Regions from separate parts of the Homo sapiens genome. Here region 1 is linked to region 2. The links are contacts of gene promoters, found by promoter capture Hi-C in blood cells and fetal thymus (Javierre and others, 2016). All regions are on one chromosome and are shown on one strand. The core of a region is centred on a gene start or on the middle of the fragment in contact, and the rest is flanking DNA. Distances in the headings are between cores, read along the strand shown. Region 1 overlaps NUP214 (nucleoporin 214). Region 2 holds the start of UCK1 (uridine-cytidine kinase 1).

Evidence for each region. The method cuts DNA at HindIII sites, captures the fragments that hold promoters and counts their contacts. A CHiCAGO score of 5 or more calls a contact.
Region 1: a fragment that was not itself captured here is called in contact with the fragment with the promoter of UCK1 in region 2 in 3 of 17 cell types (total CD8 T cells, fetal thymus and non-activated CD4 T cells); the score reaches 6.6 in total CD8 T cells.

Annotation. Positions count from the first base shown.
Region 1 is chr9:131,126,929-131,130,275 of GRCh38, forward strand. NUP214 (nucleoporin 214) reads left to right here. Exons shown (of 36, transcript NM_005085.4): 2 at 596-791; 3 at 1,404-1,555; 4 at 2,351-2,549. It also overlaps the pseudogene RNU6-881P. Among named protein-coding and RNA genes, the nearest start is that of NUP214, 3.0 kb to the left of the region's middle. The HindIII fragment of the contact is 755 bases long and covers 1,630-2,384 here.
Region 2 is chr9:131,529,698-131,533,299 of GRCh38, forward strand. UCK1 (uridine-cytidine kinase 1) reads right to left here and starts at 1,566. Exons shown (of 7, transcript NM_031432.5): 1 at 1,370-1,566; 2 at 789-948. The coding sequence starts at 1,477. RefSeq lists enhancers at 1-17, 723-1,636 and silencers at 1,052-1,101, 1,302-1,661, 1,802-1,971. The HindIII fragment of the contact is 8,496 bases long and covers 1-3,602 here.

The DNA.
Region 1 (3,347 bases), core at 757-3,256, 400 kb before region 2:
GGGGTAGAAGAAAAAAAGGTTTTATTAATAGAACCACAGACTTAGAAGATGGTAATCTCGCACTCCCTTTGGCAGCACATATAAAATTGGGATCATGCAGAGAAGACTATTATGGCCCCTTTACATGGATGACAGACAAATTCATGAAGTGTTCCATATCAGAAAAAAATGAGGGCCGAGTGTGGTGGCTCATGCCTGTGAGCTTGCACTTTGGGAGGCTGAGGTGGATGGATCACTTGAGGTCCGGAGTTCGAGACTAGCCTGGCCAACATAATGAAACCCTGTGTCTACTAAAAATACAAAAATTAGATGGCCATGGTGGCGGGTGCCTGTAATCCCAGCTACTTGGGAGTCTGAAGCAGGAGAATCGCTTGAACCTGGGAGGCAGAGGTTGCAGTGAGCCAAGATCGCTGCACTGCACTCCAGCCTGGACGACAGAGCGAGACTCCATCTCAAAAAAGAAAAAAAGACAATTGAGACAGACCTTGGTCTCAGTAATACATATTTTTGTTGTACTGAAATTGGGTCTACTGAATATAACATGTTTTAATTTCTTTCTTTATTGAATTGATCTCGTTTTGATTCTTCACAACAGGATTTTCAGTTTAGAGCGCTAAAGAAGGTGAGAATCTTTGACTCCCCTGAGGAATTGCCCAAGGAACGCTCGAGTCTGCTTGCTGTGTCCAACAAATATGGTCTGGTCTTCGCTGGTGGAGCCAGTGGCTTGCAGATTTTTCCTACTAAAAATCTTCTTATTCAAAATAAACCCGGAGATGATCCCAACAAAATAGGTAAGTTCCCTGGTTTATGTTGCAAAGTAGAGAGAGGAGTATGGTGGCATGCTCTTGTGTTTCCTTCCCAAGAAGTCATTCTAATACTAAAATGAACACTGCTGTCAGTTTGAAGGTTGACTCCCAAGAAGATTAATGGAAGCCTTTCTAGGTTTTCTCCTTGGTCCTTTGTATTTCTCCTTACATGAGTTGTTCCTCTCAGCTCAACAGGGAAGAACTTAACCATTATGCCATGCTTTTATTTTTGCTCAGTTGAACTTGGGCTCTGGCTCTCTGGGTGAAGGGTTTTATTGGCATGGGTTTTCAGTTGGCACAACAGTATGATCCAAACTATTGGCAAGGTGTACTATTTAGAGCATTGTTGCAAAAATATTTTCAACAAGGGCAGCAGCCACAGTTAGTTTCCCCAGATTGTATGAGGAAGAATTCCAGGGATACTTAATCCATCATTATATATCTTTAAGAAAGTTAAGATTTATCTGTATAACTAGGTATTGGGGTGTATGTGTGTTTATGTAGATGCAAAAATTTTTTCACATCGAACTGGATAGAGGTTGTGGCTTTATGCTTAGAACATACCGTTTTCTGCTTTGTATTTTTTTGTTTTCATAGTTGATAAAGTCCAAGGCTTGCTAGTTCCTATGAAATTCCCAATCCATCACCTGGCCTTGAGCTGTGATAACCTCACACTCTCTGCGTGCATGATGTCCAGTGAATATGGTTCCATTATTGCTTTTTTTGATGTTCGCACATTCTCAAATGAGGTAAGCTACTGTTATACTGTGATGTCAACATGAGAACCCTAAGCAGATTTCCTTGTATTGAATTACAACTTGGAAGCTTCATAGGTTAACCCTTGAAGTTTCTCTCTAGATTAAAATATGGGTTAAAAAAAAATCCTTAATTATAGAATCATAGATCTTTGAGACAGAAGGGACTTCAAGAAATTCTTTCATAACGCCATCTGCCCTAAGTTGTTATCAGGAGGCTTAGGTGACTTGCCCAAAGTCATAGATGAATACATAATGTCAAAAGTTCCTACATTTTGGATGTTCTTCCATTCCAAGCAGTTTAAGAATGATAATAATAGTGAGTGTTTATACTGACTGTGTGTGTTAGACTCTGTACTAAGTGCTTTATATGCCTTGTCCCTCGTTCATGCCTACCACAGCCTTATGTAGTAGGTACTATTATCTTCATTTTATAGGTAGAGAAACAGGCTCAGAGTTTAAGTAACTGTCCAAGGTCCCAACATTATTAAGAAGCAGAGCCAAGATTTTAATCTATTGTCTGCTATTTATTGGTTATTTTGCAATTGTGCATTCCCCTTCTGAGAGTCCCCCTAAGCATGTTAGAATAATTGATTGCCATTTTCAAAGTTGTGTTGAAATTGTCTATAGCAAATAGATTGATGCATAAAACAATCTTTTTTTATGGTTATGGAGAAAAATAAACTGATTTGAGATACCTTGTGTATTCAGTAATTTCCATTGAATATTAAATGTTTCTGCATTTACTATTTGTTAACTTATTTCACTTTTGCATATTTGTTTTAAAAGGCTAAACAGCAAAAACGCCCATTTGCCTATCATAAGCTTTTGAAAGATGCAGGAGGCATGGTGATTGATATGAAGTGGAACCCCACTGTCCCCTCCATGGTGGCAGTTTGTCTGGCTGATGGTAGTATTGCTGTCCTGCAAGTCACGGAAACAGTGAAAGTATGTGCAACTCTTCCTTCCACGGTAGCAGTAACCTCTGGTGAGTAATAAAGGCTTTCACACTGTAGCATACAATCATGGTCATCTACTTAAGAATTGATTTCTAGAAGTGAAAGTGGATAGCTTTTTGTGTTTTGGTTTTTTTTTTCATGACGAGGGAGGTTAAGGATGGAAGGTATTCTTTTTTGAGACAGTCTCACTGTGTCGCCCAGGCTGGAGTACAGTGGCATCATCTCAGCCACTGCAACCTCCACCTCCTGGGTTCAAGCAATTCTCGTGCCTCGGCCACCCAAATAGCTGGGATTATAGACATGCGCCACCATGCCCAGCTAATTTTTGTATTTTTTGTAGAGACAAGGTTTCACCATGTTGGCCAGGCTGGTCTTGAACTCCTGACCTCAAGTGATCTGCCCTCCTCCACCCCGCATATGCTAGGATTACAGGTGTGAGGCACTGTGCCCGGCTGAGAGTATTCTTTATACCCATAGTTAATGTCCTTGAAGCCAAACAGCATACATAATTTAACCTGAATGTACTTGGGATTTCTGGAGAAATATTTTGGTACAGCTGGTTTAGAAGTGTTTTTTGGGAATAATTGTTTCTGGATCTGTAACGGTGGTACTCTGAAAGTCATTTGTACCTTTGGGCGGAAAAGCATTTTAAATATTAAATGGGAGCAGGAGAATGATTTCTGGTTTTGTTTTTTTTTTTTTGTTTTTTTTTTGAGACAGAGTCTTGCTCTGTCGCCCAGGCTGGAGTGCAGTGGCGCGATCTCAGCTCACTGCAACCTCCACCTGCTGGGTTCAAGCAATTCTCTTGCCTCAGACTCCAGAGTAGT
Region 2 (3,602 bases), core at 316-2,815:
TAGCACAGGTAGACTAGGACTACGGCAGTGTATGTTTGGTAGCAACAGTGCCCTCTGCAGCCCTGCAGACCACAGGATGACCCTGTCCTTGCTGTTCTCGGGCTGTGCCACTGCCCAAGCTCTGTGCCCCTGAGATGCCGGAACACAGGGGTTTTCTGATCAGCTCTTCCTGGGAGGTGGGTAGGCTGGGCCTCTGCTTCTCTCTCTTTCTGGGACTAACTGGTTAGACTGCGGCTTTGCAGGCCTTCTTCCCACAAGTCCTTGGGAAAAGGCTGACCATGCCAGCCAGCCAGGGTGGAATCTTCTAGCAGTGGCAGGTGTCTCCCTGCCGCATCTGCCCGTTTACCTGGCCCGGAGCTTCAAGCCACCAGCACTAGTTTACCTACCGCCTCCCACACTGGCCTCTCTGAGGACTTTGCCCCAAAGCACGGGAGGGCACAGTGGGCAGAGGTGTGTGTGGAGGGCCCTAAAGGCCCCAACGTGGGAAGGGAAGATGGGAGGATTTCTCCAGGATCACAGTTGTGGCAGGGCAGGGCAGGGCTCCCCACAGTGCAACAGGCTTCCTGACTGGCTCCAACCACGCTCCTGGGGGGACACTCAGGGCCCAGAGAACTCAGCAAAGTTCCCCTGACTTCACTGTGCAGCCAACTCCACTGCAGGCTGCGTGGCGAGTTGGGGGAACAGCCCAAGCGGGTCTGCATCCATCCAACCTTGGGCCCAAGCGCAGCTGGTTAGCGGCCGCCCAGAATGGGGTCTGCCCTCCCCACATCGTTGGGCTCGCGATTTACCTGGATGGTCAAAATTGTACTGTCCTTTCAAGGCCTTGGCCTTCTGCTCTGCCGTCAGGACCTTGTAGAACCTGTCCTGGCTCAGGATGACCACCTTCCGCTGCCGCTGTTCCACCTCGTTCTGTCCCAGCAACTCCATGATCTTCTCACACACGGTCGACTGGAGACACAGAAGCGGGATTCCCGCCTGGAACCGCTCGTCCTGTGACAGGCACGGGGCCGGCTTCTGGAGACACTGACCCACCCGCCCCCTGGGGGGTATGCTCGGAAGGCGGGAGGACACCAACAGGTGTGGATGGTCTCAGCGGAAGGGCCGCGGGGGCCCAACGGGGTTAGCACGGACTTGGGGCTCCGAGGAGCCCGGCCGGCGGAGAGGCTGTGGGGGAGCCCCGAGGCCCAGCGCCCCAACCCCTCGCCCGCCCCAGCCCGCCCCGGCCCATCGCGGCCTGCAGCCCCTTCGCTCCCGCGCCCTGCCCCTGCCTGGCAGGGGGCCCCTCGGCCGGGGCTGGGGTCTCCTCTCTGGACCGGGCCGCCCGTAGGCACCGGCGAGAGGCGAGACCCCGGCCCGCTCGGCCCCTTACCTTCCCGCTGGCAGTGCCGCCGCTCACCCCTATCAGGAAGGGCCGCTGGTGCGGACGGTCGGCCTCCGGCGCGGGGCTCTCGCAGTCTTCGCCTCCCGCCGAAGCCATCTCGGCCTCCGCTCCCGCGCATCGGGTCCCCGCGCCCGCCCCTTCCCCAGGCCCGGCGCGCCCGCCCAGCGCCGAGGTCGGAGGCAACCGGAGCGATCACTTCCGGGAGGCGCGCGGGGCACGCCGGGAGTTGTAGTCCACCGGGGGGGGGGGGGCCGCGCATGCGTGAGGGTGCAGGGCCCGAGGCCGGCACACCAGGAGCGCCCGCGTCCCATTGCGCCGAAAGCTGGCTGGCAGGGACTGCTGCGCCCGGGCCTCGAGCCGGCTACAAGGTCTCAGACTCAAGTGGCCCGGAAGGTGCCCGTTCCGCACCCCGAGGCTGGGGCTGCGCCTTCGTCCGAGTGCTTGCCTCTGCCTCGCGCTGCCTCTGCGCCAGTCCCGGGCCCTCCCCCGGCCGCCCCCGGGCCTGGCCCCCTCCAGCCCAGGCTCCTCTTGGCCATCGAGGCCTCCGGACTGTCCGGACGCCTCCCACCCCACCCGCTGCTGGAGCCGTCGGGGCGCCCCGGAACGTGGCGGGGGCTGTCGCCTGATGACTTTAGGCTCGCGCCTACAGCGCGCCAAGGAGGCAGAGGCCCATGTGCCGGGTTCCATCCCTGCCGCCCCCCCGCTCCGTGCCTGGCACAGAGAACGTGACAGGCAAATTCTGATCCATTGAAATTATGGATTTCCAGCCGGGCGCGGTGGCTCACGCCTGTAATCCCAACACTTTTGGAGGCTGAGGCGGGTAGATCACGAGGTCAGGAGATCGAGACCATCCTGGCGAACACGGTGAAACCCCGCCTCTACTAAAAATGCAACAAATCAGCTGGGCGTGGTGGCGGGCGCCTGTAATCCCAGCTACTTGGGAGGCTGAGGCAGGAGAATCGCTTGAACCCGGGAGGTGGAGGTTGCAGTGAGCCGAGATGGTGCCACTGCACTCCAGCCTGGGCCACAGAGCAAGACTCCGTCTCAAAAATAAAAAAGAGAGAGAGATAGCTAAGGCTCGGGGCAGAGCATGCTTTTCATATACAAAACAGACAACCCCGGGCGGACGCGGTGGCTCACACCTGTAATCCCAGCACTTTGGGAGGCCGAGGCGGGTGGATCACGAGGTCAGGAGATCGAGACCATCCTGGCTAACATGGTGAAACCCCGTCTCTACTAAAAATACAAAAAATTAGCCGGGCATGGTGGCGGGCGCCTGTGGTCCCAGCTACTCGGGAGGCTGAGGCAGGAGAATGGTGTGAACCCGGGAGGTGGAGCTTGCAGTGAGCCAAGATCACGCTACTGCACTCCGGCCTGGGGGAAAGAGTGAGACTCTGTCTCAAAAAAAAAAAAAAAAAAAAAAAAGACCCCAAGTCTACAGCCCCAGCTACCTCCTTATCTAATTCTCGCCTTTGGAGGCAAGATTCTCCCTGCCCTAAGTCACCCAGGGCCAGGTATCAGGTGACTAGAGACCACTCTGCAGCCCAGAGCCTGCTAGAATTACTCAAACTAGCCAATTTTAAACTCTTTCCCTGCCCTGCCAGGCCTTTTCCATGGAAACCCCAAGAAAGCCTCAGGCCTGGGCTCTCCCCTCGCCCCTGCTTCTGCCTCCTGACCAAACCTGGGGTTCTCTACTGAGAACCGTGCATGGCATGGGTGCCCCTTCTCTCAGGAAATGCGATCAATCTTGCGATGGCTTTGGCCTCTCCTCATGGTCATTCAGCCGTACCTCTGTAAATTAAGCCCCAGGCACAGAACAGTGCCTAGCAAACAGCCACGCTGCTGGCTTAGATCTGTCCAGGTGTGTGTCCCAAAGGTGGCCATCCCCCAAGCCAACTTTGAATTTGTATCAAGGGAGAGTTAGACACGGTTTCTTGCCATTTCTTCCCCTGTGGTCCAGCCACGTAGCGAAAGGCAGGGAAACTAGCAGAGTCTGACCAGGGGCTGTCCCTGATACCCCTGGCCTGGGTCTCGTGTGCCCTCTCTGGTGACTGGCCACAAGGCATGGGCTGCCAGGGCCAGTCAGGCTATTGCGTGGTTCCGCTCCCAAGGCAAAGGGACGCTTTGGGAAGGAGCCACTCCCTGGGAGCAGGCCCAGCACCCAGGAAGCCCACAGTCCAGTAAACAAGGCCCGGGCCCACACGGCTCAGGCCTCTGGGCC